Linked DNA regions of Homo sapiens: region 1 is linked to region 2. Evidence: promoter capture Hi-C in 16 types of primary human blood cells and fetal thymus (Javierre and others, 2016). All regions are on one chromosome and are shown on one strand. The core of a region is centred on a gene start or on the middle of the fragment in contact, and the rest is flanking DNA. Distances in the headings are between cores, read along the strand shown. Region 1 holds the start of NTSR1-AS1 (NTSR1 antisense RNA 1). Region 2 holds the start of BHLHE23 (basic helix-loop-helix family member e23).

Region 1 (2,916 bases), core at 191-2,690, 270 kb before region 2:
CAATAGAGGATTCGAACAGCCCCCAGGCAGGGTCGCATTTTAAATGATGGTTTTGGGTGCTGAGCCAGCCCAGCTTGGAGGGGGTTTCGTTTCACAGATGAGGAGCCTGAGGCTGGGGGAAGCCACTTGCTCAGATGCACACGGCTGGGGCCGGCGGCAGGTTTGCCCGACCTCGAGTCTGCGCTTCTCATCCTGGAAGCGACCGCCTTGTCCCCTGCGCAGCCTCCTTCTCTGGCTCAGCCACGTGGGTTACTACTGAGTTCACTCTTCAGCCCTGGTGGGGGACGGGCAAGAGATGGGGCGTGAGGGGCGGGCGGAGGCAGCGAGGTCTGGGATGAGAGCTTTTCTGGAGCCTTCTCTGGAGTGTGACCCCCTTCCCCGCAAAAAAAAAAAAAAATCTTGGCTCAGCTCTTGGGCTTCGGTGCAGTAGGGGCTTTGTGGCCGATGCAGAGGAAGCCGAGCTCTGCTCCTGGAAGGACGTGGCCCCTTGTCTTACCCAGGCTTCATTTTGGGGCCATCTTTTTAGGTGGTTGAAAATGAGTAACTCATTCTTGACCTTGTGCAATGCCCACGCCCTGTGTCCGGGGCTGACCTGGAGGCTCTGGGTTCTCTGCTGAGCAGAGCTGGGGCCAAGACCACCCCTGGGGAGCGAGGAGCAGGCGCTGGTGTGCCTGGCCCAGGTGGCTTCCCATAAAAGCTGCAGGCAGCCCTGTCTAATGTGGCAGCCCTGGGCCACACGTGGCCACTGGGCATTGAGACATGGCTGGTCTGAGTGAAGATGAGCTTCAGCCTGAAATCCGCACCGGGTTTTAGAGTTAATGCGGAAAGGCGGTATACAATAGCTCACTAATACCGTTGCAAGTTGATATGATATTTTGAATACATTAAGTTAAATAAGATATCGTATTAAAATTATCATAGCTGTTTCCTTCCACTTTTGTAACATAGCTACTGGTACATTTAAGCCTCACGTGGCCTGCATCCTATTTCCACGGGACTGTGCTGCCCGAGCCCCTCCCTGCTGATGAGAAGCAGCCCTCGGGTGGCTTTGGGGTGTGTCCAGAGCCTGTACAGCCTCCCCTTGGGGTGGGGTGCCGCGTGCGGGGTGCCAGGCACCAGCCGGTGCTGAGGCCCCATGTGGAGGCAGCCCTGCATGATGGGCAGCAACCAGTGGGGTGCCATCGTGTGCGGTGACGTGCACACTAAAGAAAGACGCTCAGCTCCCTCCTCTGCCCCGCCTGGCCGCCAGCTCAGTGCCAAAACCATGGTTAGGGGGTGGGAGGCCACGGGTGCCCTTGGGGACCTACCAGGCCTGCAGGGTCCTTGGCAGAGGGGCAGTGCCTGGCACCAGGAGGACACTGTGCTGGAAGGTCAGCCTGTTCCCACAGCCAGGGATGTGGGGCTCCCAGGTAGCCCCATTCATAGTTATTTGAATTGCTGTGATGGAGGCAGGCGGAAGAGGTGGGACTGCGAGGGAAGGCAGGGGCCCCCCGGGGAGAGAGTGGGTGCCTCCTTCCCTTTCCTCAAAGCCCAACGGCCTTGCAGTGAGACTGCCACTATACAACAAAGAGCCAGCACCGCTGTGCACGCTGGAGTCTCACAGATGAGCCGATTATGTCTTTGTGACAAACACATTATTAGGAGTGAGATGAATTCCTTCTGTGGGCGGGGATGATTCAGAGAGAGGCGTCCCAGCCCCAGGAACAGCCTCCCCGCAAGGTGGCCTCAGCCTCCCCCATGCTCCCCTGGAGGCCGCTCCCTGGCTTGGGGGGTGGGTAACACGGGAGTCCCCCCGACACGGCGAGGTGAGCTCACCTCCTGAGGCTGGCGTGCAGGGAAGTAGGAAAGGGCACACACTGCGACCGGGGACCAGGGACAGGGTCTTCCCCGCTGTGACCTGTGGGGCTGTGCAGGGGGCGGGAGCAGCCCCCATCCCAAAAGGAAATGGGACAGGAGTTGCCAAGAACAGTTCCCCTTACCCTCCAATTCCTCACGGGTTCAGCACTTTCTCTGAGGGGGTCTGGTCTGAATCCCAAATTCAGATTCTGTATTCAACTGTTCCCTTCATTACAAAGAACAAATTTCCGAGCCCAGTAATTCCCGTTTAAATTTGTCAATTTTCATCCCTCGATAGAAATCAGTATGTGGTGATCACAAAAGCCGGGGTATTAGCCCAGTGGACAGTTTGTTCTGAAACTTGTCCCTTCGGGGCAGGGCCTGGGTTAGGAGGCCTGAGATCTGCCTGGAGCCTGGGGTGCCTCGGGCAGGGGCATCGTGGCTGGGGATTCTCTGCACTTGCCCCATGGAGCAGGGCGGGAAGGGAAGCCAGGCTCCTTTCCCTGTCTGGGTCTGGGGCTGCTGCCCTTGGCAGCTGGGGAGACCCTGGGACCCCAGAGGCAGAGCCCCACTCTCTGTACCCTCAGGCGCAATGCCCTGAAAGACAGGCGCCACTTTGTCTTCAGAAAGGCAGGAACCAAACCCCTCTCACAGTTCCAGAAGCTTCCCTGAGTCCCAGTTTAGACGCAGAATCTCCTCTGTGGATCACTCCAACTGGGGAACCAGGAGAGGGGGTTTGGGAGAGGAGGGAAGTGGCTTCCACCTGTGGGTGGGGCAAAGAGAGGGCTCCCAGCTATGCAGGGCGGGCCCAAACCTCCAGCAGAGCCCCTTTCCCAGCGAGGACTCCGAGGACTCCGAGGCCCTGGCCTGTGGCTCCCAGGGAACAACCTGGACCCTCAGCATAGGACCCGCAAGCTGAGACCCTCCTCTGTTTTACTGCTTCATTTTCCATCTGTGACCAGGGCCCAGGCCACATGCACACACCTGGCGTAGGAGTTACTTCGTGATGTGTTTGGCTGTGTCCCCACCCAAAATCTCATGGGAATTGTAATCCCCATAATGCCCCGTGTCAAGGGCAGG
Region 2 (2,761 bases), core at 262-2,761:
ACGGCCATCGTGGGCTCTCCGCAGGGCTGCGGAGTCTCGGAGTCACCGAGGTGGGAGGTGCCGGCCACGCGCGTCCTCAGGAACAGAGCACTGCCCTGCAGTTTAGCACGAAGGGCCGGCTGGAGCGGGAGCGCGAGGCCCACTGCAAGAGGATCAGGAGCCAGTAAGTCCGGCTTTTCTTCGTCTCCACCTTTCGTGCGCCCGGGGCCAGGACCGCCTGTCCGGAATCTGACCAGTGCCCGTCCTCGCCGTGGCCCTGGGACCCCGCGGTGGTCTTCTTTTGGGGACGAACGGCAGTGCCCGAAGGATGCTCTACCCACCCCCGTTCCTAGACTTGCTGGGTCCCGACAATACCCAGTGGGTGCCGCGAGTTCCCGGGCGCAGAGTCCAGCGTCCGGCTCTCGAGCTCAATCCCGCGCCCCGACGGCCTTGGCGCTTCCCGCTGCGCTAAACTGTCCACCGCGCACAGGCTGGAAGCGAAGTCGGGCCCCCTCCTCCTGGTCTGCAGGGTCCCTCCAGGCCTTTCCTGTCCGGGCAGAGAGACAGTCACAGGGGCGATCGGAGGACGCGTGCGGGAGGGCCGGGGGCCCGCGCGGTCACGGCTTCTCGTGACAGTGTTTGCAAAGCGCGGAGGGCGTCCCGGAGAAGGCGGCGCACTTGTCAGGGCAGGGCCCCAGGGCGGCGCCTGCGGAGAAGGGGCACACAGTGGCCTGGCCGAAGGGCGTCAAGGGCGCGGCGTTTACGGGCGCGGCCAGGCCCTGGCCCTGGTTGAGGAAGGCCACCAGGCGCCGCATCTCGTCCAGGGCCTGCGCCTGCATGAGGATATAGTTCTTGGCGAGCAGCAGCGTGGCGATCTTGGAGAGCTTGCGCACCGACGGGCTGTGCGCGTAGGGGATGACGGCTCGCAGCCCGTCCAGCGCGTCGTTTAGGTCGTGCATGCGCCGCCGCTCGCGCGCGTTGATGCTGAGCCGCAGAGACCGCTGCTCTCGCGGCCGCCGCCGCCCGTCCGCCGCGCTCCCTGGCCCGCGCCGCCGCCGCCGCTGCTCGAAGGCGTCGTCCTCGTCCCCGCTCTGTTCGCCGCTGCTCTCCGCCGCCTGAGCTGGGGCGCGAGGTGCAGGCGCCGCGGGGAGGTCGCCGCCCGGGCCCGGAGTGCCGTAGCCGCGGGCCGCTTCGGGTTCTCGCGCCGCCCCGTAGGCGAGACCCGCAGCCGCCGCCGCGTAGCCGTGGCTTAGTGCCAGGTACGCGTCCCCCGACAGCGACTTGAGCTCGGCCATGGCCGCGCCGCCTGGGCTCGGGGGCTCGCCGGGTGGGCGGATGCTCATGTGGGTGAGCAGCCCCCGAGGCCGGCCCGAGCCCGCCGCTGCCGCTGCCGCTGCGATGAGGCTCCCGGCTCTGCGCGTCGGTCTGGCTTGCCTGCGGGTCCCAGAGCCTCGGCGCCCGCTGCCTCCTCCGCCTCTTCCTTCTCTCCCACCTCCTCTCCCTCCCAGCCGCGACGCGCAGGGGGCGGGCTCTACCTCCCCCTCGCCCCCGCTTCGGTTTTAAGCCGCGGAGGCGCCCGGTGGGACCTCGCTGCTGTCCAATCAGGGGGGACCGGGTGAGCTCCTCTTCCTGGAGCCGGGCTCCACCAGCGCCGCAGGCTCACAGGCCGGGGGTGGGGGCTCTGGACCGAGGGGCGGCGCGGGGCGGCGCGGGGCGGCGCGCGCGGTCCTGGAGCGCTAGTACTTGCTTCTCGACTCCCCGGCCGCCGCCTCCGGCCGCCCCGGGGATTCCGCCACCAAACGCACGCGTCCCAGGTGGGCACCCGCCTCGGTCCGTCTTTGAGTCTGACCCTAGCGCAAGAGTCCCTGGCGACACGCAGGGGCCAGAGCGGGGGGGCGCGCCGCAATAGCAGCAGCGCCAGCGCCAACACCCTGTCCCGCTGAGGGGCCGCTTCGGGTCGGGGTCAGGGTCGTGGGCGCTCTGGTGCAGCCGCGGCGCAGCGTGTACCCGGAGCCCGCACACTCCCTGCTCGGGGCGCCCTGTGGCCAGGCTTGAGGGGCAGAGTGAGAGGGAGTTTCTAGAACCTGTTGAAAAACGCCACGAGCGTTGCAGGCCGGGGAGGGCGGGAAGGTGGAGGGCAGCGCGGCCTGGGGCTCCCCGGGGGTGGGAGGGGAGCTCTGTGAGCTGCAGGACCGCCTCTTCCCTGCCAGCCGCTTCCTGGGCATCTATCAGCGAAACGCGTGAGGCTTGGTGGGCTTTCCCGGAGCCTCCGAACCCCTGGGGTCCAGCCACACTGGATGGGAATGTGGCCAGCCTCGGACTCGCCTTTTCAGTCCTCTTCCAACCCCGCATGAAGGCCAGAACCCCAGCCCTTCTCCCAGGTGGGAACCTGCCTGGAGGCCCGGCCGAGTGCTGAGGCTAGAGTGTGCTGAGGGATAGTGGCTTCTCCGGTCCTGGCTTGGGTGGGAGACTGGGCCACCCTGGCCTATGGCACGAGGTGGAGCGGCCCGTCGGGCCCTTCTGTGTGACCTGGGAAGGGCCGCATACCCTCCCTGTTCTCCAGGCTCCGCCCCAGGAGGAGCCACAGCGATGGGGCAGTGTGCGCAGCCCCGGGAGGGGAGTGGGAGCTGCACGTGTGTGGGGCGGATGTGCTGTCTGGAAGGTTCTGGGAACGCAGCAGTGACCGGCCTGTCCGGTGGTTCCCTGCCAGGTGCGGGGTGTGAGGAGACAGATGCATGGATAAGTCTCCGTGGGAAACTCAGGCCTTTGTCCTGGCGGAGGG

What was found. Contacts are between HindIII fragments. The CHiCAGO score rates a contact against its expected background, and 5 or more counts as called.
Region 1: the fragment with the promoter of NTSR1-AS1 here is called in contact with the fragment with the promoter of BHLHE23 in region 2 in 3 of 17 cell types (total CD4 T cells, erythroblasts and non-activated CD4 T cells); the score reaches 6.2 in total CD4 T cells.

The regions. Positions count from the first base shown.
Region 1 is chr20:62,733,919-62,736,834 of GRCh38, forward strand. It overlaps NTSR1-AS1 (NTSR1 antisense RNA 1), which reads right to left and starts at 1,441. Exons shown (of 2, transcript NR_199009.1): 1 at 1,308-1,441. The region is part of intron 1 of NTSR1 (neurotensin receptor 1); the gene reads left to right. RefSeq lists an enhancer at 865-1,710. The HindIII fragment of the contact is 3,056 bases long and covers 1-2,497 here.
Region 2 is chr20:63,005,453-63,008,213 of GRCh38, forward strand. BHLHE23 (basic helix-loop-helix family member e23) reads right to left here and starts at 1,512. Exons shown (of 1, transcript NM_080606.4): 1 at 475-1,512. The coding sequence starts at 1,322. The coding sequence ends at 597. RefSeq lists enhancers at 1,231-1,936, 1,937-2,644. The HindIII fragment of the contact is 10,733 bases long and covers 1-2,761 here.